6 separate regions of the Homo sapiens genome follow, and all the other regions are linked to region 4. Evidence: promoter capture Hi-C in 16 types of primary human blood cells and fetal thymus (Javierre and others, 2016). All regions are on one chromosome and are shown on one strand. Each heading gives the region's core, a stretch centred on a gene start or on the middle of the fragment in contact. The rest is flanking DNA. Distances are from core to core; before and after follow the strand shown.

Region 1 (4,759 bases), core at 1,784-4,283, 410 kb before region 4:
TTTAATGCCAACGGTTTCTTGGCTTCCTGACTTGACATGCACCATGCACAAAGAGCAAGGTACTGACTGGTCTAAAGCCACTCTCCCCGGACACTGCTAACTCTAGCTAACCATCTCACAGACATCCTGCCTCTGATCATAAGATGGTCCCTGGAAGGAAGCATAAACACTTCCCAAATACTAGAACAGACAGCCCAAAGTGCAAGTTCTACTAATGGGAGAGTAAATGAATCACCTCTGTGTACAGAGAATGGCACAGGAAATTGTTATGAGTATAAAACCATATCTCCCCTTTCTTAATCACTTGTTATTATCTAACAAAGGTAGATACTTTTGAGAAGACCTCACCAACTACATAAGTATGTCCTATAAATTGTCTTGAAAACATATTCCCATGTTTAAAGATTACTTTGAAGAACCAAAGTTGAATGTTCAAAAATAAAAACTATTCTTACCAAGTTTCCCAAGCCCAAATCCCTGGAGAATTCTAGAAACCAGTTTTGTTGGTTTCTAGTATTTCAGTATTCAGTATTTCAGCTGCATCGAGCCCCCCTCAGGTGAGCTAGTGGGAGTTCCCCGACTCTATCATTATGTTCCTCATTTTCTTTCCTTCTCCTGAGGAAGTCTTCAGTTATTTCCATAGCAACTTGTGATAATGTCCTAAATGATCACATTTTTTGAATAGCACATATATTATTGGGACCTACTTTTTCTTTCTTTTAAACAATATCTTCGATAATAAAGAAAAGGGGACCGGGCGGGATAGCTCACGCCTGTAATCCCAGCACTTTGGGAGGCTGAGGCAGGTGGATCACCCAAGGTCAGGAGTTCAAGACCAGCCTGGCTAACACGGTAAAACCCCTTCTCTACTAAAAATACAAAAAATGAGTCAGCCATGGTGGCTGACCCAGCTACTCAGGAGGCTAAGGCAGGAGAATCGCTTGAACCTGGGAGGCAGAAGTTGCAGGGAGCTGAGATCGCGCCACTGCACTGCCTAGGCAACAAGAGAGAAATTGTCTCAAAAAAAAGAGAGAAAGAAAAGGGAGTAATCTTTAAAAATGAACTTCTGTTAAAAAGTAATTATCATGCTTTATACAAAACAGCACATTTACTAATTTACTAGATAGAATTCATTCCAGAACCACTGTCCAGACCAAACAAACAAATGGGAACATAGAGCACATAAAATAGATCATACACAGTTTAAACATAATTTTCATAGCCAGAATTGTCATGTTGGGCAAAAAATGGTAAATCAATCCTTATACGGCTATATGAAAATTATAGGTAAACATAAAAACAGGCATATGTTTAAGTCAGGTTAGATTTAACTAGGCACTGGAATGAATGAAAACTGATTATATTCCGTTGGATTCCAAATTTCTACCTTATTGGGAAAGTAGAGTACATCATTCTAGCCGAGGGATGAGAGGGCAGGCAGATGAGGATAGCCACACAGGTATACGCAGTGTTGCCTGATGATTAAACCTGACAACTATTTTGGGAACTGAGATTTCAGATACACTATTTAGAATTTAGACTGGCAGCTTCCAAAGATTACTGTTCACTTGAGTTTGTAAACTGGAACCTCTATAAACTTTAGTGCACCTGATCTGGCTCTAGAGTACACTTTACAATGCATTTAAAAATAAAAACAAACAAACAACAAACTTCCACAGATTGCCCTTTCGGGATGTGTCATTTTTAGATGCTCATTCTCCATTTGGTGCTACCATATAAACCCCTTGAAAAGTTCAGGGGATTCTTTCTGATAATGATCAGAAAAGGGTGAGGCCTGGGATATAGCGGGAGCAGCAAAAAAAAAGTTACTCTCCTCTTACTGAAGATACTCTTCTGAGAACTTCCATTGTCCCTTAGGAGGAAGGAATGGAATATGGAAGTTCCAGAAGATACTGCTGCCTTCCGAAGATAGTTACAACAGGATCATAACTATGAACCCTAAGATTACTTTTTTTTTTTTTCCTTTTTTTGAGACAGAGTCTTGCTCTGTCGCCCAGGCTGGAGTACAGTGGTGCAATCTTGGCTCACTGCAAGCTCCGCCTCCCGGGTTCACCCCATTCTCCTGCCTCAGCCACCCACGTAGCTGGGACTACAGGCGCCCGCCACCACGCCCGGCTAATTTTTGTATTTTTAGTAGAGACAGGGTTTCACCGTGTTAGCCAGGATGGTCTTGATCTCCTGACCTTGTGATCCACCCGCCTCAGCCTCCCAAAGTGCTGGGATTACAGGCGTGAGCCACCGTGCCTGGCTGAGATTACTTTTTTATGTAGCACCTGCCTTGCTTCTGTGTCTTATAAAGACACAGAATTCTTACAAAGCTATGAAACAGAGTCAGGAAAAATTACTCATGGCACTTAAAGATGTTTAGAGACTGTAAAATGCCTTCATTTTTTTTTTCTCAATGCCCCTGTGAGGTAGGTGTCTGTGGGGAAAAAGCTGAGGCACGGAGGGGTTAAGTCTGCTCACCTTTTCATTGCATGATGAGCCAGTGGTCCAGCTAGCAGGACCAGGTGTCCCAGCTCCCTAAACTTTATTCACCCTGCTTCTCAGAAGGCTTATTTATGTTACACAACAAATACAGCAGGGGAAAGTTTTCTTTTCATACATTTTAACTAGTTGGCTATTTCTTATTCTCACCTTGAACATAAGTTATCTCAGATAAAACCAAATAAAAACAAAACAAAAAAATCAATATTGCCTAACAGTCTGTGTCAAATGCAGCCTATTCTGCACTAGTGATTGAAAAAGCACAGAATATGATTCAAGTAGAAGTATTTGTGGGTGCTATGGTGTTCCTGTTGACTCAAGCCAGGCTGTGAGTAAAGTGTCGCTTTAGACACTACCCACTGTACTTTGTAAGAACTTCTTTGGCCTGACACAAGGGAATAAATCTACCACCCCTGTTTCATGGTGAAACCATATTCTGAAAGATATTCTACACATGCTGGCCCTGCCTGGAAAGGGGACTCTCAGCCGTGTGATGTGTATTACCGAGTTCATGCACAACTCTTTGAAGCTGGACATGAAGGTCACAGTCTCCTGACATAAAGCTCACAGGACAGTTCACACTACGGACAGAGGGGCAATACCACAGGGTACATGCACTAGCACCATGCCACAGAAGTCAAAGAGAAGGACAAGAAGCCACCACACAAGCATCTTAGAGTCCCATCTGGTATGCCATTTGCAGAGGCTACCTCTGGTAAGGGGAAGACTGAAGAGGTCCTGTACTCCTTTCCATAATAAGAAGAAGGATCAAAACAGAGCACTCATTGCTGGCTGCTTTGAGCATACCGCCTATCCAAATTTCACCCCTACATAAGTTGGTAACTTTCCTTGTAGATATTCAAAGATAATATATGTCATTTCTTCATCAAGAGAGAATCATGTCAGGCAAAATTCAAAAGTTAGTTACAAGACGTGGATGCAGGGCTCCAAGGCAATTTACACCACTACTCTTGGAATCGAATTCATGAGTACTCAGGGCACTAGCTTTTAGACATGCAATACTTCTTTTTGAGACTTTTCTTTCCCCTATAGTATCTAAAATGTAAATTCCACTCATATCATGACCCCTAAGTCTAATGGAAGATCAGATATTTGGTTTCAGGGTCTGAAGTAAATCACAATACCAAATCAGATGCATGTATCTATGAATGCTTTTTGCCTTGATATTAATGCAAACGCCTGCCCTCCCAAGGCCTGTCCTCCCCTTGAGCTCATCTTCCAGGGGGCTGAGCCTGCTCCGTCCTCTGCATATGCAGGACCAGAGGGAATCATTCCAACTCAGAGTTTCACTGGGATACTAGGATACAGCATAGCAGCAATTCATGCACTTTATTTCTAAAAACCAAAGCTCAGGCTGAGCTGGTCACTGTGCAAGATGAACCAGCAGGACATTCTCGCCTCGAATGAAAATCTGATTTATGTGTCGAGTGAATACCTGCTGGTAATCCACTTTGGGCTTTCGCTTTTTCTTACGGGACTGGCCTCTGGAAAGGGTGGTAGCCCTGGAAAAGGTACCTCCCACACTGGAGCCGTCTGTCCGTGTAGTCCTCCCTGACAGCTCTGACCTGGACTCCTCCCTTGCAGAGGCCTGCAGGGAAGAAGGGACAGAGCGGGAACGCTTGTGTGAGCCCCGGCCAGTGTCTGCTCTTCCCCACACTGAAGCCAACTTCCAAGTGGATGTCTGTGAGTATCTAGACAGAGTGGAATCTTCAACTGCAGACTTAGAATCTGCTTCCTTCTTGGAGGAATCTTGAAGTTTCAGCCGATCAAATAGCTATAAAGCAAACAATGATAAATATTAGCCTTCTCTTTAGCCTTCATCACCCTCTTTCAACATACAGAAAAAGACCAAATTCTTTAATTATGTTCTGTGGACTCCTTGCTTTGCAATTTTTTAAAAGTTAGTAATAAATCTTTTTTTTTTTTTTTTTTTTTGGAGACGGAGTCTCACTCTGTCGCCCAGGCTAGAGTGCAGTGGTGCGATCTCAGCTCACTGCGACCTCCACCTCCCAGGTTCAAGCAATTCTCCTGCCTCAGCCTCCCAAGTAGCTAGGACTACAGGCGCCTGCCACCCTGCCCAACTAATTTTTGTATTTTTAGTAGAGATGGGGTTTCACCGTGTTAGCCAGGATGGTCTCGATCTCCTGACCTCATGATTCACCCGCCTCGGCCTCCCAAAGTGCTGGGATTACAGGCATGAGCCACCACGCCTGGCCATAAATTTCCTATT
Region 2 (4,631 bases), core at 34-2,533, 470 kb before region 4:
GGCAATTCACAGTTCCATAATGCTCAGATAAAAAGTAAAAACTGAGTCAGCTTTCTAAAACCTTATTGTCTATTTATATCAAGCATTCTGATATTTTGAACATCAGTGTTATTCTTTTAAGTCTTTGACACATAGTATCCAGTAGATGATTTATAATTATTTATCATGCTTAATATAAGAGGAACTTCAAATTGATTATGTAAGTTCTAGATTATGTGTTTAAAGTCTAATGTAAAGAAACCTCACCACCAGCATGAAGATTCTTTATTTGCTAATGTTAGAATTATTTTTTTTAACCATTTACCAAAGCTCTACTAGAATATATTTCATTAAATCATTTATTGCTTTGTATTTTTGCAGTCGTTGCTGCTCCTAGCTTACCTCATAAGGAATGGATCAGAGCGTGTTGTTACAAGTGCCAGAGAACACATTTATGATTTACGATCCCTGGAAAATTACCACTTTGTAGGTAAGCAATAGAAAAACCTTATAAGCAAATTAAAACAGTAGTTGGAGTTGTCAGTCACCTGAACCAGCTTAGAAGCTTCTCTGCTCTAATTAGAATGTGACTGTTGCTGGTTGTGTGACGAGTGCAGAATCCAAGACGTGGGGCCCTAGAGTATTAATTAGTGAAGACAAGAACTTGCAGAAAAGACTGGCTAATAACAACAGAACCAACACAACATGAGTGTTCGGGTTTATATTAAAATATGCACTGGAGACTGGTCCCCTGTGGTGTCCATAAAGGAATAGCTTTAATCATATGGGAAGAAAAGGTTAGAGCTCCAAAACACACACATCTGTTTGAAGCTGGGGTTTTTTTCCCTCCCACCAAATAATATTTACTGTGCAAAGGCAGCAAGGCCACAGTGTGTTTTGAATGTGAAAGAGGCTAGAAAATGAAGCACATTTCATTTTGTAGCGTACCCCACTTGTAAGCACTTTAAAAATTCAGTTTTTGAGCTATGCTAAAACCTCATAATTAGTGTTCCAGACGTGTACTGGGGAAACCAAGACATTTGTGTGCTTTTCAGTTATTAACATGCTAAAGTGGTTCTTCTTTTGATTTGTTTTCTTAAAATATGATAGAAAAACACAATAGCACTTATGGATATGTCTATTTTGTGTGGTCATCATCAGTAATCCTTTTTAGGTCAATCTTTAATTGACCTTGCATAGTACCATTATCTGTGGTCCTTTTTAGTTCATCTTTACATGCTCTTATAAGCCAAAATTCCATTTTAGAACTTAGAATTTGCTGAAGAGGAAATGACAAAGTTAAATAGCACAACTTGCCCCTTTCTATTGTTTTTTAAATATTGAAGTTTCTTATGTTGAAGTTTTTGTGTCTTTTTTTTAATCTTAAAGAGCTTGATACATATTAAGTGAATTCTTAGGTTTTGCTTATCTCTTACCATCCTCATAGATGAGCATGGTAAGGATCAAGGTATAAATATTCGACAGAAGGTGAAGGAATTGGTTGAATTTGCCCAGGATGACGACAGGCTTCGTGAAGAGCGAAAGAAAGCAAAGAAGAACAAAGACAAGTATGTTGGGGTTTCCTCAGACAGTGTTGGAGGATTCAGATACAGTGAGTATCAAAGACAAGCTGACACCTAAGCATCAGCTTAGCTTCTTGAGTATATTTTAAGAATCAGTGAAATACCAAAGACCAAAATGCTAATTTTCTTTTCTAGGAATACATAGAATACTAAAATACACGCAGTACTAATCTTGACTTCTACTATCACATGAATCTTCCTATTTTTAACTTGTGGGTTCGGCAATAGGATTTTAACCATTAATGGCTAATTAAATGACTGCATATTTTGAGGTGTCATACAGAGATTAAAACAGATATATGCCCTTCCCTCTTAGGATTGCCATTTTAAAAAGAAGGGGGAAGAAAGTTTCTATAACTCAGAGTTTAGAGTATAAAAATAAAAAGTTTGATCAGGAGATCCATCTTTCTAATTTGAAACCAATTTAGCTGTATTTTTGGCCCAAACCAGATAAGCTTCCTGACAGTCATTCCAGCCTCAGTCTCTCTTTCTTTATTTAAGCATTGCATACTTTGACATATAAAAGATGACTGACGATACTCGCAGTTTTTCATCTAGGCCTATTGTTTTGTTTATTCTTCCCAGTACACTTAAGAGCAGCTAGAACATTCATCTTTCATGTTTATTTTTAATATAATAATATAGTTTCTCTAAAATAGGGCATAGGTGCTTGAAGCAGATACACAAAATAGGAACTGTCTTTCACGGCATGTCCCTTTGGACTTGTTCTGTCTTCTGTGAGCTCTGACAATCTCTTGCTCATTTTGTGTATGTGCAGACTGGCCAGTGCTGTGTATCTTAGCAGCTGTTCACTGAGGCTCTCCAGCTCCCCCCACCCATATATGTTTATATTTGGATTATATTGAGCTCTCATATCTCCTTCAATGGAACCATGTAAAAATCTTAACATATAAAATATCCTTACTCATTTATTCCTCTGCTTTCCCACTCTCAAAGAAAAAACACTGCGTTTAGTTAGCTGTTTAAGGATGTTTCTAACAGCAGAAAAATTCCCTTTTTTATATTGAAGCATCAAATACAAGTTAGTTTTTTCTTTTTCTTTTTTTTAAATAGGGCTAACTCATAGGCAGTGCAACCAGAGTCGGCCACAAGTTAGTTTTTGAATTGGGCAAAAATATTTCTCCTAAAGCATATAAATAATGTTTTGAAGTTTCTATTTGGGGAAGTCCAAAGTTTTTGGATTATTTACCCAAGTAGTAACTTTATTCTTCAGGTTTTTCAAAGTAGTTGTAGCAACTTAATGTGTTTTTAATAGAAATTGCTATTTGAAACTTATTTCCACACTATTCTTGCTTGTATCTTTCTTTTTGCCAGCATGATATATAATTATATCAGCTAAACTTAGAAAATTGAATACGTTTTCAAACTCAGTCACAATGCACTAACTGCAGCATCTGTATTAAAGATAGAGTTGGATATCCTGTGTGTTTGCATCACATCCTTTTGCTAAGTTATTGTTCATGGTTTATGTTATTCAGACTTAACTAATCACTCTTAGCAGTTTTGTGTTTTTTCTTTTTCTTTTCTTTTTTTTTTTTTTTGAGGATTCTTGCTCTGTCATCCAGGCTGGAGTGCAGTGTTACCATCTCAGCTCACTGCAACCTCCGCCTCCCGGGTTCAAGTGATTCTCCTGCCTCATCCTCCCAAGAAGCTGGGACCACAGGCGTGAGCCACCATGCCTCGCCAATTTTTGTATTTTTAGGGTTTCGCCATGTTGGCCAGGCTGGTCTTGAACTCCTGACCTCAAGTGATCCAGCCACCTTGGCCTCCCAAAGTGCTGGGATTACAGGCATGAGCCACCGCACCCGGCCAGTTTTGTGTTTTTTCATTCTGACATTAGATAATGTCTTGCCAATATCCAGTATCTTTAGCAGTAATTCAGTATGATGTTCACCATGCCATGCTAATCAGTTTGGTTTTCATCCACTTCCATTTTTCGTGTAAATTTGTTTCTTTCCGAAGTCTGGTTCATCACACTGTTGTTGAAATGTACATACACATTGTTGGAAAATCACTTTTTTTAAAAAAACCATCCTGGTTTAAATTTTGTCTAGAAAACTTCATTTTGTCATGTTTTCTTTAAGTTGATGGTCATTTCCAGATTCAGTAAATATGTTAAAATCCTTAAACATGTAACAGAAAATTTTAGCCTTGCAATTTTAGGAGGCAATTCAGCAAAATCGTTTTGTTCAATCTCCAAAGGCTATGTATCCTTTTAGATCCTGTAAACAAAAGTTCAAAACAAAAGCTCCATTAGCCACTTTTTAGTTATTTTGTTGTTTCTCATTGTCCTTTTCATTTTCTTCCAACCTGCCTTAATTTTTAATGTTTTCTTTTTTAAAAATACCTCACGTGCTCTCTGTACCTTCTACTGTTGCTTCTTAAGTTGGATTTGGACATGGAAATGGAAGGGTTTCATTTTGTGTCTGTAATTCCTATGTCTCCTTTGGGTCCCTAGGGGCAAGGACTAAAACAAATCTTGACATTTTGGGTTTTTTGTTTACTGCCACGATCTATTCTCTGCATTCCCAAATTCACACAGAGGCTCTAGGTTTCGCCAGTCTCAGCATATGTTTGGAATGGGTGTTTGAATTGGTTGACACTGTTCTGAACTACTGTTTGAGCATACTTCCTGATTCTAGTATGTGTAGTTTTTGGTAGTTAGAGTAATCCTTTCTTTGTACAGTAATTACGGAATGCTTTCCCATCCCCTGAAAATTCATTGAATTATTTTTTTAGTTTGATACTGAGGCGTGACAGTTATTGAGACTTTTTAGCTTATTGGGACATGTAGCATTCAGATTGGAGTTCCTTCAGTTGTATTTTTTAAGATACTGTTGCTATCCAATGCTTTTCTGAAAATTGGGAAACCATTAAGGGACAGGAATAAAATATAACATATTAAGTGTCTTTTGTGAAAACAGAAAGATTTTCATTTCTCTTTTGCTTATATAGCTTGTGTTGGTTTTGTGTTTTCCACTACTCCTTTCAGTAGCCTTTAAGAATTTCCTGATATGCTGTGCTGTGCATTAAGGTTGTGTAAGTATT
Region 3 (4,168 bases), core at 643-3,142, 350 kb before region 4:
TCACGATAGTATAAAGAGAATAAAGCATTCAGAAATAAAGTTAATGAAAGAAGTACAGGACAGTACACTGAAAATTACAAAACATTGTCAAAGGAAATTAAGACCTAAATAAATCAAGGTATGTTCCATGTTTGTGAATAGGAAAGTTCAGTATCTTCAAGGTGTCAGTTTTCCCAAAATTGATCCATAGATTCAATGCAATTCCTATCTAAGTGTCATTAGGGTTTGCTTTTCTAAAGAAAGAAAAATTGGTAAGAGGATCCTAAAATTTATTGTTTGAATCCAAAGGACCAAGAATAGCCAATATGATTTTGTAAAACAACAAAGTTCAACGACTTACACGATTTCAAAATTTCAAAATTTACCATAAAGCTACAGTAATCAAGACTGTGGTATTGACATAAAGATAGGTATATAGCTGGGCATGGTGGCTCATGCTTTTAATTCACCCTGGGCAACACACTAAGACCCCATCTGGAAGAAAAGGAAAAAAATATGATATTGTAAACCAAAAATAAAATTCTAAGTGGATCTCTCCTCAGGGGTCAGGGCATTTTATTTTATTTATTTTTTTGAGACAGGGTCTCACTCTGATGCCCAGGCTGGAGTGCAATGGCACAACTTCAGCTCACTGAAACCACTGCTTCCTGGACTCAAGTGATTCTCCAGCCTCAGCCTCCTGAATAGTTAGGATTACACACACAGGCCACCACACCTGGCTAATTTTTTTTTTTTTTCCTGAGACGGAGTCTCACTCTGTCATCCAGGCTGGAGTGCAGTGGCACTATCTTGGCTCACTACAACCTCCACCTCTTGGGCTCGAGCAACTCTCCTGCCTTAGTCTCCCAGGTAGCTGGGATAACAGGAGTGTGCCACCATACGCAGCTAATTTTCGTATTTTTAGTAGAGATGGGGTTTTGCCATGTTGGCCAGGCTGGTCTCGAACTCCTGACCTGGGGTGAATTGCCTACCTCAGCCTCCCAAAGGGTTGGGATTACAGACATGAGACACCGCACTCAGCCATGCAGAGATTTTCAAAGTACCAAAAAAATGGTTTTGCACCTCAGCCCAACACCTTCCTCAATGTTTTCTTTTTTCTTTTTCTGTTTTTTTTTTGCCCCCAGATGGAGTTTTGCCTCTTGTTGCCCAGGCTGGAGTGCAAAGATGCAATCCTAGCTCACTGCACCTCCGCCTCCTGGGTTCAAGCAATTCTGCCTCAGCCTCCCAAGTAGCTGGGATTACAGGCACATGCCACCACACCTGGCTAATTTTTGTACTTTTTTTTTTAGTAGAGGTGTGGTTTCATCATGTTGGTCAAGCTGGTCTCAAACTCTGGGCCTCAAGTGATCCACCTGCCTTGGCCTCCCAAAGTGCTGGGATTACAGGTGTGAGCCACCATGCCCTGCCCCTCAAGGTTCTCAAAGAGTCGGTGAAAGAGAAAATTTTCGTTGGGGAGGTGCTCAAGTGCTTTACAATTTCCACCTTTCTCCCTCACAAAGGGATGCTCCCCACTTCAATATAAGCTCAAGAGCCTGAACTATGTCCTCTGACATCTCTGAGGCCCAAAGTTCTATATCAAATACAAACCAGAAATACACGAAAGTTGAGACTAGCCAACTAACTGCCTGTCTGATAAAGAGGTGTCTACCTAGGGACAGCTTAACACTACCTGGATCTGTGAAGGCACAGTATGCACATTTCATAGAGAACTGGCCTGCTGTCTTTTTTTTTTTTTTTTTTTTTTTTGAGAAAGAATCTCGCTGTGTCACCTAGCCTGAAGTGCAGTGGCACAATCTTGGCTCACTGCAACCTCTGCCTCCCAAGTTCAAGTGATTCTCCTGCCTCAGCCTCCCAAGTATATGGGATTACAGGTGCCCACCATAAGGCCTGGCTAATTTTTGTATTTTTGGTAGAGACAGGGTTTCACAATGTTAGCCAGCCTGGTCTTGAACTCCTGACCTCAAGTGATCTGCCCTGTGCCCCCCAAGTGCTGGGATTACAGGCATAAGCCAAGGCACCCAGCCAGTTTTTGAAACGTAAGTTCTGTCTCCAGTTTCCCATTTTTACTAAAGACAAATCACGGTAAGACTGATTTGCTTTATTATGCTTGGTCTGATTATTTGTATAAAGTGCAGCAAAAATAATTATTTTTTACATAATCTCTTTTTAAATTGGCTTTGATGGAACTCTGTTCCATAGAAGGTATCTTAGATAAGACTTTTTTAGAGCTGAGCCCATGGGTTTGTACTCTCAAATACCTATGAGTTGAGTAAATTCCTCTCCTCTTGTGGTCCCAAGATAATTTGGGGATCCTGGACCTGTCAGAAAGTGACATTTTTGTACTTACCATAGGTCAGAAACACTGTACAGGGACTGCTGTAGACAAGGTCTGAGGCCAATTCCCCCAGGGGCTTTTATTGGCTTTACAAGTCAAGTTTGATTCCTTAAAGGAAAACACCCCATTCCAGTCAAATCGTTGGTAAAATAATCAGTGTTTCCAATTTGTCCCGTTGCAAAAGAAAACAGATTCTTATTGCACTTATGCAAATAACTATATTGCCGTAATGTAAGAATACTCACAAATAATTTCCAAATTCTGGAGAAATTAGGTAGAGAGAAACAAATATGCCTCAAATGTTATTCACAGCAATATACTTTACTCAATTGCTACAAGCTGCAAGCAGCTCAAAAGAAAAGTTTCTTTGACTCTGAAAAACAAAACAAAGGATCAGCAGCATTTTAAGCAAAGTTAAAAAGATTAGTCCTCTATTGGTTCAGTCAATTCAGTTAACTCCTGTTCTGCTTGATATTCACGAACATTTCAGGTCTCCATGAGAGTTCTGAAATTGTTTTATTTTACTGTCAAAATTTTCAAAGTTATCAGAAACCTGCATTTAAGAACCCCTGTTAGAGTTCTATAGTTGATAACAAACCATCTTTTGAAGAGGATTAAAAGAAGACAACAATTGTGTGTGGATGATAAAAAGTCTTAGGACAGCCACTATTAAAGTCACAATCGATAAGGAAATTTGGTTCCTTCTGTGGCATATAATAATTTTATGTAACAATTATAATTATTCATAACATACACTAAGTCATATCAGAATTATGAGGTTTTTTATAATTGTGGAAGACACACCAATAACACATTTACACAAATACAGCCCAAAGAAATCCAAACACCATTTTACATTTGATAATGCTTCCTGAATGATTTTTGTATCAAATAAGCCAAATGTCACTGTTGCATTAGAGCATTACTGATGACAAACCCAATTCTTTATAAAACCTTATAGGCAAATGTATTCAATCTTAATCAGTTTGACAACTAAGTAAAATTTTCACAAACCTTTTATAACCCTTTACAAATTTTCGTTAAAGAGCAGATCATAAGCAGATTTTTGCTCTAAGAACATGGTGAAACCCCGTCTCTACTAAAAATACAAAAAAATTAGCTGGGCATGGTGGTGCGAGCCTGTAGTCCCAGCTACTTGGGAGGCTGAGGCAGAAGAATCGCTTGAACCCAGGAGGTTGCAGTGAGCCAAGATCGCACCACTGCACTCCAGCCTGGCGACAGAGCCAGATTCTGTCTCAAAAAAAAGAAAAACAAGCTACAACTACAACAACAACAAAAAACCCACAACCTGTTGTGCTTTTATTCCAATGTTTTATTTGCAGAAAAATTGAATACCCCTTTAACTTTAGCCAATATGTACACACACAGAATTTCTTACAATTAATTTTCCACAACTTTCCATAACTTGCTTAAAACTTCAGCTTTATTCTACCTAACTTAAAACAATCCTTTAACCCTTTAATCTAGGCAAGAAAATTTAGTCACATGACTTCTTATAATCTTTTACCAAAAAAACACATTTCACTTTCCCTACACACCTTACATGTAGAACTACTTCTTCAATAGTCTCAATTACATGTTACAATGATAACTTTCAGCAATTATGACTTTTGGTGAAAACCCTGGTTAGTAAGCAATTTTAACTATGTACTAGGTGTGGAGCCTAGGACCTCAACAGAAGTGAAGACAAGGTCTGACTTTTTCTAGCATTGCTAGGGGGTATGGCTAACACCACATATCCCTAGACCTTATCTGGAATTTAATGTCTTCAAGGTAGGTAAATTGAACAATTTTCAAAAGTCGAAGAAGCAG
Region 4 (4,550 bases), core at 1,267-3,766:
CCTTCAGGAAGGGTGGAAGAACCTTGCTCCTAGCTGATTTCCTCTAGCAGTAATTTACTACTGATGTCAACTAGCTGGGGCTCACCTGGCCTGAGAGCGAAGAGGCTACAACTTGCACAGACTCTGGAGGAATTGTCCCTGATGATGGAGAAAGTGTGAGCCTGGCTGGGGTGTAATGTCCTGGGGCAGGTGTCCCAGATACTTTATCTCCTTCACAAACGGCTGCACTGGCTCCTCTGGGTGCTGCTGGTGAGCGGCGACAGCTCAGAGGAGCGGGATGAACCCTGGCCTCCGCCTCCGAGTCTGGGGCCCCACCCCATTTCACTGGCAGCTCTGCCACTCATCAGTCAAGCGGTCTGAGGAATGCCATGTCTTCTCCCAGGACTGTGAAACAAGAGGGCTTGGAGGCCTCACATTCTCTGAGTATCTTAATTCCACAGTGGAAAATTTCTCTTGGTTAAAAATGTCATCCAAGAATATTAAAAATAAATTCCAATTTTCTGTGGAAAAAGGCTTGAGTTCTACCTTGTTCCTCCTCAGACCCCTTAACTCTGGTATTTTTACTCCCCGCAAAATAACCTTTTCAAAGGGCATCTGCAAACAGCTGCGTGGCCTTTCTGTGGGGAGGATGCTTTTATGCTCCGTGGGGACTCACCATTAGCACTTGACCTGGCTGTGCTCGCATGGGAAGAGACATGCTGCATGCATTGCTGCAGATTTAAGACAGGCGCCTGGGAAGACTGAATGCCATGGGCAAGCTGCAGAGCAACTTTCTGATCAAGGAACACTGGCTTGTTCCCGAGTTCCCAAGACTCCAAGCCTCCCGGAGACCTTTGGCCAAGGGTAGGGTCACAACTCACCAAGGCGGCTCTTTTTTTTTTTTTTTTCCAAGGGAAAAAGTCTTTCTATAATACCCAGGCTGGTCTGGAACTCTTAAGCTCAAGTGATCCTCCCACCTCAGCCTCCCAAGTGGCTGGGACTACAGGTGCACACCACTGCAGCTGTGCCTGGCTTTCTTCCTAACCTTTTATCATTAATGTGAATCAGAAAGAGACCTTCATGGGTTAACTTGGATACTTTGGCCAAGAACCAAGAAGAGAAAAGCTGACTTTTAAAAACATATAATGTGTATAAATTTATTCAGGTCTACATCTATCTGAGCTACTTTCCACCCTCTATTCCAGACACACCCTGTGATCTCAATAGAATGGTGGCAATGGGTTCTTACAAGGTTGAAAGGAACAGGAAGGGATGGAACCTCAAAGCCAGACGGCCCTTTATGAGAAAAGGGGAGGCAAGCAGTCTGGATTCTTGAAAGGAAAGGAACGCTGGGGATGATTCAATCCAGGAGTAGCAAACAGTTTCCATTTCTGGCGTCAACTCCAACTGATTGATTGGGAAGCAGTTTCTTGGGACGCTTGTGTTCAGAGGAACTCTGGGGCTGTTTCTGCACCCAGCTGGAAGCAGTGCTGCATTAGATTCCTAGGGTTGCTATCACAAATTACCATAAATGTGGCAGCTTAACATGACAGAAATTTATTCTCTCACAGTTCTGGAGACCAGAAGCCTGAAATCAAGGCTCTCGCAGAACCATGCCCTCTCCAAGGCTCTAGGGGAGAATGTTTCCTTGCCTTCCCAGCTGCTGATGGCTCCCGGTGTTCCTTGGCTGATGGCAGCATCCTTCCACTCTCTGCCTCTGTTTTCCCTTGGCTTCTTCCCCTTGAGTCTCTCTGTCTTTTCTCTTACAAAGACATTAGTCATTGGATTTAGGGCTCACCCTTAAATCCAGGAAGATTTCATCTTGAGATCCTTAACTAGTTATATCTACGAAGGCTCTATTTCTAAATCAGGTCACATCCTAAGGTTCTGGATGGATATGTATTTTGGGGGGGCATTATTCAACCCAGTGAGAGTGCCATGATGGTTTAGCAAGCTTGACAGGGGTTCAGGGCTGTGCAGGGATAGGGCTCAGGTCTTCTGCCTTCTGATCTGCCATCCTGATGTAGCCCAAGCCCACAGCTTTACAGATGATGGTGGAACTGAGACTCAGACAATAAAAATAAAAGGGTCTTGACCAGTACCATATAACTATGTAATGGCACATGAGTCAAGAATAAAGAAAGATGAAGATAAAGAGGTGGGGTAGGCAGTTGGGATGGGGAAGTGTAGGGGTGGGAGGGGATGAAGATGAATATTACTGCTTTGGTTGTGGAATAACTGAGAAAAGCATCTTTGCATTTAAAACCATTGGCCAAAGAGGATCTAGATGGGACAAGAAAATAATAATCAGCCAACTGGGGAGAAAATGTAGGAGTGTTAGAAGAATTAGTACTGCACTGGGGACCAGTTTTCAGGGGATCATCTGCCCTTTTTCAGCCAAAGGAATGAGAGCTCCTCTCACTGGGCAAAAGCCTTTCCAGGCTGGTCCCTGAAAGCATCGTGCGTACAGATGCCTGCTGGTTGCCATGGTGAATGATGCTGATCTGAAGAAATGAATAATGTGAGCATTAGGGGCGGCAGTGGGATTACTCAGTGTTGAGAGAAACAACACGGAAAGCCCAGAGCAGAGGAGGGAGAAGGCCCCATTCTCTCAGCTTTAATCTACTGCACCTCGGAGGGCAGAGCTCTAACCAGACACGCTGCAAGCATCAGGTAAGACATATAGATGGCTCTTCTTGGAAATGGAAATGGCTTCTTTTCACACTCTGCTTGGAGAAGGGCCGGGCAAATGAATAGTTAAAAATAGGGGAGAATTTAGAAACGGAAACAGAGGAAGAAAAATCAATAAGGGAGACGGACCTGGTCCTAAAAGGTGAGGATGCTATTTGCGTCTTGACAGAAAGCTCTTAAAAATGTCTGCTGAGGTAATTCCATCTGTACAGACAGCTAGTGGCAGATAGGAAGCCAAGAGAACATTTGTGCGTGACAAGAAACAGGATTCCTGATTACTCCTGATGGAAAGGTTTTACACAGGTGGCTGCCTATAATGAATTAAGCTCTTTTCATCGTGGTCGAAAGTGTATTTATAGTGATGTGTGGTGTGGGGAGGATGAGTGTGTAGAGGACACCAAGCTAGGAAACATAAACATTCGGTCTCCTTCATGATGACCTTCCCTGGAAGGGTCTGAGCACATCCGTCTCATCCCTTTCGTTCCCTATTTACTGGGAAGAAATATTCAGCCACATAGAAAGACACTATTCACCTTCCTGAGTATCTTAGTTCACTGTTACCCTTACAGAAGAAAAACAAGGATTAAGAAACTACTCAATGCTGTGCACCTTTCTGCAGCTCCACTCCTGGAGGAAAATGGGCACAAACACAAGAGGATGGGGGAAAGCAGAGGTGAGAGAAAGGCAGGTCATAATAGCCATTGGTTTGGCTTAATATCCAATGCAGGCGAAAATCCAGTTGACAGCTGTTTACTATGTCACTGCAACCCAAAATGAAACCTACGGGGTTTCATGTGAGGGAGGAGAGGCGGAAGACAAAGCAGGGTGAGACTGTTATGTGAATATGCGTAGGCTGACTATGACTGTCTCTGTATTTCTGATCAGGGGCAATCAGTAGAGGGAACTGCATGAGAGAAACTAAAATACTTGAAGATGGCTCTCTCTTATCAAAGCGGGGCCTGGCAATCTAAAGAGGGCTCATTTGATTTGTCTGGAAAAACAGCAACTGGGTCTCAGTCCTGGCACCTCATTTTGCGATAACGTCTGTAACTAAACCCGGCAGCCTTGCATTAGGAAATGTAGTGGTTAGGCGGCACTAAGTCCTTTTTCTACGTATTAGCGGTGTGACATCAGGTTGCTCATCCGTAAAATGGGAATCTAGCTCAGAGGATGTGATGAAGAATAAAGGAAATTAATTACTGCCTGTGAATCATCTAGCATGACAAGTGACATAGCAACCACTTACTGTGAGTGGTTATTACCATGATTAACATTCATAATAACAGCAGAATTAAATAGTGGTAGTTATGCTGATATTAGGGGCTGATTATCTTCACCCATAAAATAAATTTCCTGGTACCGCTGGCTTTGAAAAAACAAACAAACAAAACAAGAGCAGAAGCTTTGGGGTGAGATCAGCTGCCAAAGAGTGACGAAGCGAATTTCCACTCACCATGGGCAACAGAACCAGGAGGCTAAAAAAAGCAGTGGGCAGAATGTTCTAGATCACTGAGCTCACAGTACTTGGAGCAGAAACAGGAGGTCAAGAAGGAAAATTGAGGTGAATCAATTGCCTGAGGGGAGGTCACAGACCTGAGAATAAAGGTGGAGCCTCTGAGGTTCTACTGATTTCTCCTTACCTTTTCTTCTTTTTTCTTAAGGGGATGAGAACAATCCCCTTAAGAAAATCCCCTTTGTTATCTGAAGGATCTCAGCTAGGGTGGGATGTGGCTGGGATTGCATGGGTGCATCTGTTCTTAGGCCTGAACTTTGGCATGGGACAGCCCCAGTTTTAACTTTTGTCCTGCCACTTTTTCGCTATGCCTAAATAACAGAACCTCTCGGCCTCCATTTCTTTGTCTGTAAGATGAGGGCAACAT
Region 5 (4,259 bases), core at 1,644-4,143, 300 kb before region 4:
TTTTGTCATGTAGGCATACCAGATACTCCCTTCAGTAAGGACAGAAATGGTCATGTGAAGCGACCCATGAACGCATTTATGGTTTGGGCAAGGATCCACCGACCAGCACTAGCCAAAGCTAACCCAGCAGCCAACAATGCAGAAATCAGTGTCCAGCTTGGGTTAGAGTGGAACAAACTTAGTGAAGAACAAAAGAAACCCTATTACGATGAAGCACAAAAGATTAAGGAAAAGCACAGAGAGGAATTTCCTGGTAATCAAATTAAATAATGCCTCTTACTTCTTTTAAATGAATTTATTTAGTTAAAGATTAGGGTAGGTTGAGATTGAAAGACAAAAATATATAATTTTTTTCTGATATGTACAATAAAGAGAATAATGACTAATATTATAACAATGATTGAAATGACACTGGGCATGAGTTTCCTTAAATAGAACCAAGCAAAGGGATATCTGATTTCATATTCACCAACTCATACAAATCAGAGGACACGCAGTTTTATTGTGGTTTTGATTTAGATAGATGTAAGTTTAATGAAAGTACATCTTGAAAGCTTTAGGCTATAATTTTGCAAGTAAACTATAGAAGTGTTAAAATGATAGCAACAGAAAAAAAATGCAGTCTACGCTTAATGAGAATGCAGGGATTGTCACCATATTCCATTTTAACATATGATTGTCAGAACATAGTCCTGCCTTCTGATTGATAGATTTAGCCCTGTCATGATATAGTGTGAAAGGAGTCCGATTTCTCCCTAGCAGTGGGAACATTGGGATTAAGCTTGGAAAATGCACAGTGCATGGCCAGCATGTCTGTGCAAGGTGGGACAAAACTTATTATTTTCTGAAATATTGGCAGAGAGGTTCTAGTAATGAAGGTCAGAGGCAGCAACTACAGTGAACCAGTGATTGTTCTGATTACACAGTGGCTGCAAATGCCATAGTTCCACTGTTCTGACTTTGGAAGAAATTAAGTTATTTGTGGACTTGGAGATTGCTGAGTTTAGGAGAGTGACTCTTCTTGAACTAGGCACAAAATTAGTGACTGATCAGCCAGGCGCGGTGGCTCACACCTGTAATCCCAGCACTTTGGGAGGCCAAGGTGGGTGGATCACGAGGTCAGGAGATCAAGACCATCCTGGCTAACACAGTGAAACCCCATCTCTACTAAAAAAAAAAATAAAAAAATTAGCTGGGCATGGTGTTGGGCACCTGTAGTCCCAGCTACTTGGGAGGCTCAGGCAGGAGAATGGCATGAACCCAGGAGGTGGAGCTTGCAGTGAGCCGAGATCGTGCCACTGCACTCCAGCCTGGGCGGCAGAGTGAGACTCTGTCTCAAAAAAAATAGTGACTGATCATTAGTGACTATTGCATTGTAAGATATAGATGATTGTAACTTACAGAAAGTGAGGAAATGAGATGAATAATGTCATAGTGAGGCATTATTTGATAAGGTGGAGGAAAGGCTTTGGGATTCAAATACAGCGGTTTTGATGTTGACTCTACTACAGGTTCATTCTGTGTCATTGGTTATAAAACATTTGACCCTTGGCCAGGCGCAGTGGCTCTCGCCTGTAATCCCAGCCTTTGGGAGGCCGAGACGGGCGGATCACGAGGTCAGGAGTTCAAGACCAGTCTGGCCAACACGGAGAAACCCCGTCTCTACTAAAAATACAAAAAATTAGCCGGGTGTGGTGGCATGCACCTGTAATCCCAGCTGCTCAGGAGGCTGAGGCAGGAGAATCACATGAACCTGGGAGGCGGAGGTTGCAGTGAGCCGAGATTGTGCCATTGCACTCCAGCCCGGGCAACAGTGCAAGACTCCGTCTCAAAAAAAAAAAAAAAAAATTTGACCCTCTTCTTTTCAATGATGAGTTATAACATTGGCCACTAGTCAGGAGCTATTTGGATATGTATGTTAAAATACACAGTGGAGAAGTCATTCACTGAAATAATATCCCGGAGCTGGAAAAGATACTTTAGACAATAATTTGTTTTTAAAACACTTTAAAGTGCTTTGCATTTTAGTATGAAAAAAATTATTTAAAGGCTAAATGGAGTCTACACATTTAAACATATTTTGTCTTCTATAGGTTGGGTTTATCAGCCTCGTCCAGGGAAGCGAAAACGATTCCCTCTAAGTGTTTCCAATGTATTTTCTGGTACCACACAGAATATCATCTCTACAAATCCTACAACAGTTTATCCTTACCGCTCACCTACGTACTCTGTGGTAATTCCCAGCCTACAGAATCCCATCACTCATCCAGTTGGTGAGTTAGTTTTATTGTAGATTACTATTTTTTAAATAGCTGCAAGAAAATTTTACCTCAAGTTTGAAGTGTTCTTTCTGTTAGTCTTAAGAATTTGGAACAACAATGTTAAGAAAAAAAGAAGAGGGAAAGTGAGAACATTAAATAGGAGAAGGAAAAATTTCAGTAGAGATCAAAACACTTGGTTTGCCAGAGTAGCAAATAATCCATGTGTAAAACCTCAGACCTTTTAAGCAAATCAGGATGAGCCCATAGATTAGGCAGATAATGCAGGAAATAACTGAGGTAATTCAATAGGAAAAAGGAGAGTCTTTTTACTAACAGCATAAAAGACTGCCTTGCTAATGGGGTATGAGGCATCCTGTCCTGGAACTTAGTAATGATACTGATTTGTTGAGACCATTCTCTCACTGCTCTAGAAAAGCAGTGGAAGTAATCTATTTTCTACCAAATATTTGTTTGGTTCATTATATTAATCTCTCTAAATGTCTCCTCTGAGTTCTTTACATTCCTGTTACTGATTTTAAGAACCAAAAATTGACAACCTAATATCTTAATAACTTGTTATAGGGCTATCCATCATTGGTTTGTTTTTCCAGAACAGTTTTTTTTTTTTTGAGATGGAGTTTTCGCTCTTGTTGACCAGGCTGGAGCAATGGTGCAATCTCAGCTCACCACAACCTCCGCTTCCTGGGTTCAAGCAATTCTGCTGCCTCAGCCTCCCGACTAGCTGGGATTACAGGGATGCACCATCACACCCGGCTAATTTTGTATTTTTAGTAGAGATGGGGTTTCTCCATGTTGGTCAGGCTGGTCTGGAACTCCCGACCTCAGATGATCTGCCCGCCCCGGCCTCCCAAACTGCTGGGATTACAGGTGTGAGCCACCACGCCTGGCCCCCAGAACATGTTTTAACCATCTTTAAGGGAGAGCTTTATACATTCACTACTTGCTGTCACTTTTTTTTTTTTTTTCCAGACAGGGTCTCACTCTGTTGCCCAGGCTGGAGTGCAGTGGCAGCATCACAGGTCACTGCAGCCTTGCCCTCCTGGGCTCAAGTGATTCTCCCACCTCAGGCTCCCTAGTAGCTGGGACTATAGGTGCACACCACCATGCCTGGCTAATTTTTGTATTTTTTTAGAGATGGGGTTTTGCCATGTTGCCCAGGCTGGTGTCGAATCCTGGGCTCAAATGATCCACCCACCTTGACCTCTCAAAGTGCCAGGATTATAAGTGTGAACCACCATATCTGGCCCACTTTCTTAAACCTACTAAGACTGCGTAAACCTGCTTTTTCTATTTTTTTTTAACCTCTTTAAATCCTTCTGGTAATAAAGCCACCCATATGAGCTGAGAGTTTTAGATACCTTGGAAACTGACTTCTTAGAATCTTAGGCATTTTCAGTGTTGTTGTTGTTGTTGTTTTTTAATGTATCATTTTAGCAATTGATAGCAACAAGCTACATTCCAGATGTCTAGACTCAAGAGAGAGATGCAGAAAGCTGATCCTATAGCCCTGTTCTGTCCTAGCACAGGCAGGCACTCTCAGTCTTCACTGTTTGGTAGTGACTTCTTTAATCTTGTATTTCAACCCAGGCTTAATTATGACTTTGTTCACTTACCTTGTTTTTCTGTTATGTTATTTATTTATTTTTTAAGACAGAGTCTTGCTCCGTTACCCAAGATGGAGTGTAGTGGCGCGATCTCGGCTCACTGCAGCCTCTGACGCCTGGGTTCAAGCAGTTCTCCCACCTCAGCCTCCCGAGTAGCTGAGACTACAGGTGCACACCACCATGCCCATCTAATTTTTGTATTTTTAGTAGAGATGGGGTTTCACCATGTTAGCCAGGCTTGTCTCGAACTCCTGGCCTCAAGTGATCCACCCATCTTGGCTTCCCAAAGTGCTGGGATTACAGGGTGAGCCACCATGCCCAGCCTGTGTTATGTTATGATTTCTGTTTTCATAATATAATTTTCTTCTTTTTA
Region 6 (4,202 bases), core at 726-3,225, 280 kb before region 4:
CTTGCAAAGAATGTGAACTCATCCTTTTTTATAACTGCGTAGTATTCCATGGTGTATATGTGCCACATTTTCTTTATCCAGTCAATCACTGATGGGCATTTGGGTTGGTTCCAAGTCTCTGCTATTGTGAATAGTGCCACAATAAACATACGTGTGCATGTGTCTTTATAGTAGAATGATTTATAATCCTTTGGGTATATACCCAGCAATGGGATTGCTGGGTCAAATGGTATTCCTGGCTCTAGATCCCTGAGGAATCACCACACTGTCTTCTACAATGGTTGAACTAATTTACACTCCCACCAACAGTGTAAAAGCATTCCTATTTTTCCACATCCTCTCCAGCATCTGTTTTCTGACTTTTTAATGATTGCCATTCTAACTGGCATGAGATGGTATCTCACTGTATTTTTGATTTGCATTTCTCTAATGACCAGTGATGATGAGATTTTTTTGATATGTTTGTTGGCTGCATGCATGTCTTCTTTTGAGAAGTGTCTGTTCATATCCTTTGCCCACTTTTGGATGGTTTTTTTTTTTTCTTGTAAATTTGTTTAAGTTCCTTATAGATTCTGGATATTAGCTGTTTGTTAGATGGATAGATTGCAAAAATTTTCTCCCATTCTGTAGGTTTCCTGTTCACTCTGATGATAGTTTCTTTTGCTGTGCAGAAGCTCTTTAGTTCAATCAGATCCCATTTGTCAATTTTGGCTCTTGTTGCCATTGCTTTTGGTGTTTTAGTCATGAAGTCTTTGCCCATGCCTATGTCCTGAATGGTATTGCCTAGGTTTTCTTCTAGGGTTTTTATGGTTTTAGGTCTTATGTTTAAGTGTTTAATCCATCTTGAGTTAATTTTTGGATAAGGTGTAAGGAGGGAGTCCAGTTTCAGTTTTCTGCCTATGGGTAGCCAGTTTTCCCAACACCATTTATTAAATAGGGAATCTTTTCCCCATTGCTTGTTTTTGTCAGCTTTGTCAGAGATCAGATGGTTGTAGATGTGTGGCATTATTTCTGAGGGCTCTGTTCTGTTCCATTGGTCTATATCTCTGGTTTGGTACCTGTACCATGCTGTTTTGGTTACTGTAGCCTTGTAGTATAGTTTAAAGTCAGGTAGCGTGATACCTCCAGCTTTGTTCTTTTTGCTTAGGATTGTCTTGGCCATATGGGCTCTTCTTTGGTTCCATATGAAATTTAAAGTATTTTTTTCTAATTCTGTGAAGAAACTCAATGGTAGCTTGATGGGGATAGCATTGAATCTATAAATTACTTTGAGCAGTATGGCCATTTTCACAATATTGATTCTTCCTATCCATGAGCATGGAATGTTTTTTCATTTGTTTGTGTCCTCTTTTATTTCATTGAGCAGTGGTTTGTAGTTCTCCTTGAAGAGGTCCTTCACATCCCTTATAAGTTGTATTCCTAGGTATTTTATTCTCTTTGAAGCAATTGTGAATGGGAGTTCACTCATGATTTGGCTCTCTGTTTCTCTATTATTGGCGTATAGGAATGCTTGTGATTTTTGCACATTGATTTTGTATCCTGAGACTTTGCTGAAGTTGCTTAACAACTTAAGGAGCTTTTGGGCTGAGACGATGGGGTTTTCTAAACATACAATCATGTCATCCGCAAAGAGAGACAATTTGACTTCCTGTCTTCCTATTTGAATACCCTTTATTTCTTCCTCTTGCCTGATTACCCTGGCCAGAACTTCCAATACTATGTTGAATAGGAGTGGTGAGAGAGGGCATCCTTGTCTTGTGCCAGTTTTCAAAGGGAATGCTTCCAGCTTTTGCCCATTCAGTATGATATTGGCTGTGGGTTTGCCATAAAAACCTCTTATTATATTGAGGTACATTCCATCAATACCTAGTTTATTGAGAGTTTTTAGCATGAAGGAGTGTCGAATTTTGTTGAAGGCCTTTCCTGCATCTATTGAGATAATCAGGTGGTTTTTGTTATTGGTTCTGTTTATGTGATGGATTGTGTTTATTGATTTGCATATGTTGAACCTGCCTTGCATCCCATGGATGAAGCCGACTTGATTGTGGTGGATAGGCTTTTTGATGTGCTGCTGGATTCGTTTTGCCAGTATTTTATTGAAGATTTTTGCATTGATGTTCATCAGGGGTATTGGCCTAAAATTTTCTTTTTTTGTTGTGTCTCTGCCAGGTTTTGTTATCAGGATGATGCTGGCCTCATAAAATGAGTTAGGGAGGAGTCCCTCTTTTTCTATTTAAACTGGCTTTTTAAGGAAAGTTGATTTGCACCCAAGAATTCAAGTAGGCAAATGTGCTAAATAGATACACAAGTATGTTTTTCACTGTGTCAACCAGCTGTTGGTAGGATTACTCCTGAGCCAAAAATATGAACTGCTTTTGAAAATTGTAGTTTGGAACTGATTTTGAAATGAATTTCTGGAGATTCTATGAACTGCTTGCAATATTTTAAAGTAGTAAAATTTTGATGTGGGCAGAGTAATTCTGAAAATTTTTTGTCCTACATGTTGGAACAGATTCTGCTGGGACACATCATTTTTTTTAGCTTTCTAGGTCATCTTAATAACTTTTTAGGATTTAAGAGAATTTTCAAAGGCATCACAATAAAACTACTTATCTAAAAACAAGTGTAGGAGTTGCCTTTTATCAAATTCTACTTGATGAAAAATTTCACATCCTCTTTACAGTTTTACCCTTTATCTCTGAATTCTGCTTTCAGACCACCCGATCCAGCTTTACAAATCTCTCCTTTGTGATGATGAGTTTAACATGCACAAATCTTAGTAAAATTTTCTCAAAGTGATGAACATTTGTAAGAAGAGAGGAGAAATAGGAAAGTGCTTACAACACCTTTACATCTCTGGCTCCTTCTCTGAAACCACTTAAGGGTAATGTTCTTTTCTATATATATTTTTTTATTTTTTATTCTTTGAGGCGGAGTTTCGCTCTTGTGGCCCAGGCTGGAGTGCAATGGTGCAGTCTCAGCTCACTGCAACCTTTGCCTTCTGGGTTCAAGCGATTCTCCTGCCTCAGCCTCCCGAGTAGCTGGGAGGGATTACAGGAGTGCACCACCACGCCCGGCTAAATTTTTGTATTTTTAGTAGAGATGGGGTTTCACTGTGTTGGCCAGGCTGGTCTCAAACTCCTGACCTCAAGTGATCTGCCTGCCTTGGCTTCACAAAGTGCTGGGATTACAGGCGTGAGCCACTGTGCCTGGCCGAAATGTCCCCTCCCCTCCCCTCCCCTTCTCTTCTCTTTTCTTCTCTTTCTTTTCTTTTTTTTTTTTTTTTTTTTTGATGGAGTTTCACTCTGTCACCCCGGCTGGAGTGCAGTACTGTGATCTCAGCTCACTGCAACCTCCACCTCCCCAGTTCAAGTGATTCTCCTGCCTCAGCGTCCAGAGTAGCTGGGATTACAGGCACGTGCCACCACTCTCAGCTAATTTTTCTATTTTTTTTTTAGTAGAGATGGGGTTTCACCATGTTGGCCAGGCTGGTCTTGAACTCCTGACCTCAAGTGATCTGCCTGTCTCGGCCTCCAAAAGTGCTGGGATTACAGGCATGAGCCACTGCACCCTGCCCGAAATGTCCTATTTCTTAAAATAATGAACAGCAGGTCCGGCACGGTGGCTCACGCCTGTAATCCCAGCACTTTGGGAGGCCAAGGCAGGAGGACCACGAGGTCAGGAGATCGAGTCCATTCTGGCCAACATGGTGAAACCCCATCCGTACTAAAGATACAAAAATTAGCCAGGCATGGTGATGCGCGCCTGTAATCCCAGCTACTCAGGAGGCTGAGGCAGGAGAATCGCTTGAACCAGTGAGTTGGAGGTTGCAGTAAGCCAAGATCCCGCCACTGCACTCCAGCCCGGTGACAGAGCGAGACTCTGTCTCAAAAAATATCTATCTATCTGTCTATCTATCTATCTATCTATCTATCTATAGAACAGCACCTTACCTGTATTTTTGTTTTTTCTTTAGAAAGCTAAGTTTTTGCCTGTGCTCCCTGGGGACACTGTGGAGGCTGACTCCTCCTCCTGGAGAATGTCTTTTCTTTTAAGCTGTATGGAAGGTTAGGGTGACCAACTGTCCCGGTCTTGGTTTGCACAGGACTGAGGAGCAGGGGGTTCCCAAACATAAGACTTTCAGTGCTAACATCAGGAAACTCCTGGACAAACTGTGATGAGTTGGTCACCCTAATGAGAGT

The links. The method cuts DNA at HindIII sites, captures the fragments that hold promoters and counts their contacts. A CHiCAGO score of 5 or more calls a contact.
Region 1: a fragment that was not itself captured here is called in contact with the fragment with the promoter of FNDC9 in region 4 in 1 of 17 cell types (naive B cells); the score reaches 6.9 in naive B cells.
Region 2: a contact is called between a fragment that was not itself captured here and the fragment with the promoter of FNDC9 in region 4, in 1 of 17 cell types (activated CD4 T cells). The highest score is 5.8, in activated CD4 T cells.
Region 3: a contact is called between a fragment that was not itself captured here and the fragment with the promoter of FNDC9 in region 4, in 5 of 17 cell types (activated CD4 T cells, neutrophils, M2 macrophages and 2 more). The highest score is 7.7, in activated CD4 T cells.
Region 5: a fragment that was not itself captured here is called in contact with the fragment with the promoter of FNDC9 in region 4 in 1 of 17 cell types (activated CD4 T cells); the score reaches 5.2 in activated CD4 T cells.
Region 6: a fragment that was not itself captured here is called in contact with the fragment with the promoter of FNDC9 in region 4 in 1 of 17 cell types (neutrophils); the score reaches 5.4 in neutrophils.

What each region holds. Positions count from the first base shown.
Region 1 is chr5:157,754,398-157,759,156 of GRCh38, reverse strand. It overlaps LSM11 (LSM11, U7 small nuclear RNA associated), which reads right to left. Exons shown (of 4, transcript NM_173491.4): 4 at 1-4,303. The coding sequence ends at 3,893. Among named protein-coding and RNA genes, the nearest start is that of LSM11, 13 kb to the right of the region's middle. The HindIII fragment of the contact is 6,812 bases long and covers 1-4,759 here.
Region 2 is chr5:157,810,023-157,814,653 of GRCh38, reverse strand. It overlaps CLINT1 (clathrin interactor 1), which reads left to right. Exons shown (of 12, transcript NM_014666.4): 4 at 361-469; 5 at 1,427-1,591. Among named protein-coding and RNA genes, the nearest start is that of CLINT1, 47 kb to the left of the region's middle. The HindIII fragment of the contact is 1,473 bases long and covers 547-2,019 here.
Region 3 is chr5:157,697,339-157,701,506 of GRCh38, reverse strand. LOC105377676 (a long non-coding RNA gene) reads right to left here. Exons shown (of 3, transcript XR_941129.3): 2 at 2,581-2,708. Among named protein-coding and RNA genes, the nearest start is that of C5orf52, 28 kb to the right of the region's middle. The HindIII fragment of the contact is 9,921 bases long and covers 1-4,168 here.
Region 4 is chr5:157,343,643-157,348,192 of GRCh38, reverse strand. FNDC9 (fibronectin type III domain containing 9) reads left to right here and starts at 2,516. Exons shown (of 2, transcript NM_001001343.4): 1 at 2,516-2,652. All of the region lies in intron 23 of CYFIP2 (cytoplasmic FMR1 interacting protein 2), which reads right to left. The HindIII fragment of the contact is 2,139 bases long and covers 1,936-4,074 here.
Region 5 is chr5:157,644,651-157,648,909 of GRCh38, reverse strand. SOX30 (SRY-box transcription factor 30) reads left to right here. Exons shown (of 5, transcript NM_178424.2): 2 at 14-253; 3 at 2,094-2,273. Among named protein-coding and RNA genes, the nearest start is that of SOX30, 5.7 kb to the left of the region's middle. The HindIII fragment of the contact is 4,220 bases long and covers 784-4,259 here.
Region 6 is chr5:157,619,097-157,623,298 of GRCh38, reverse strand. No RefSeq gene overlaps it. Among named protein-coding and RNA genes, the nearest start is that of SOX30, 31 kb to the left of the region's middle. The HindIII fragment of the contact is 7,544 bases long and covers 1-4,202 here.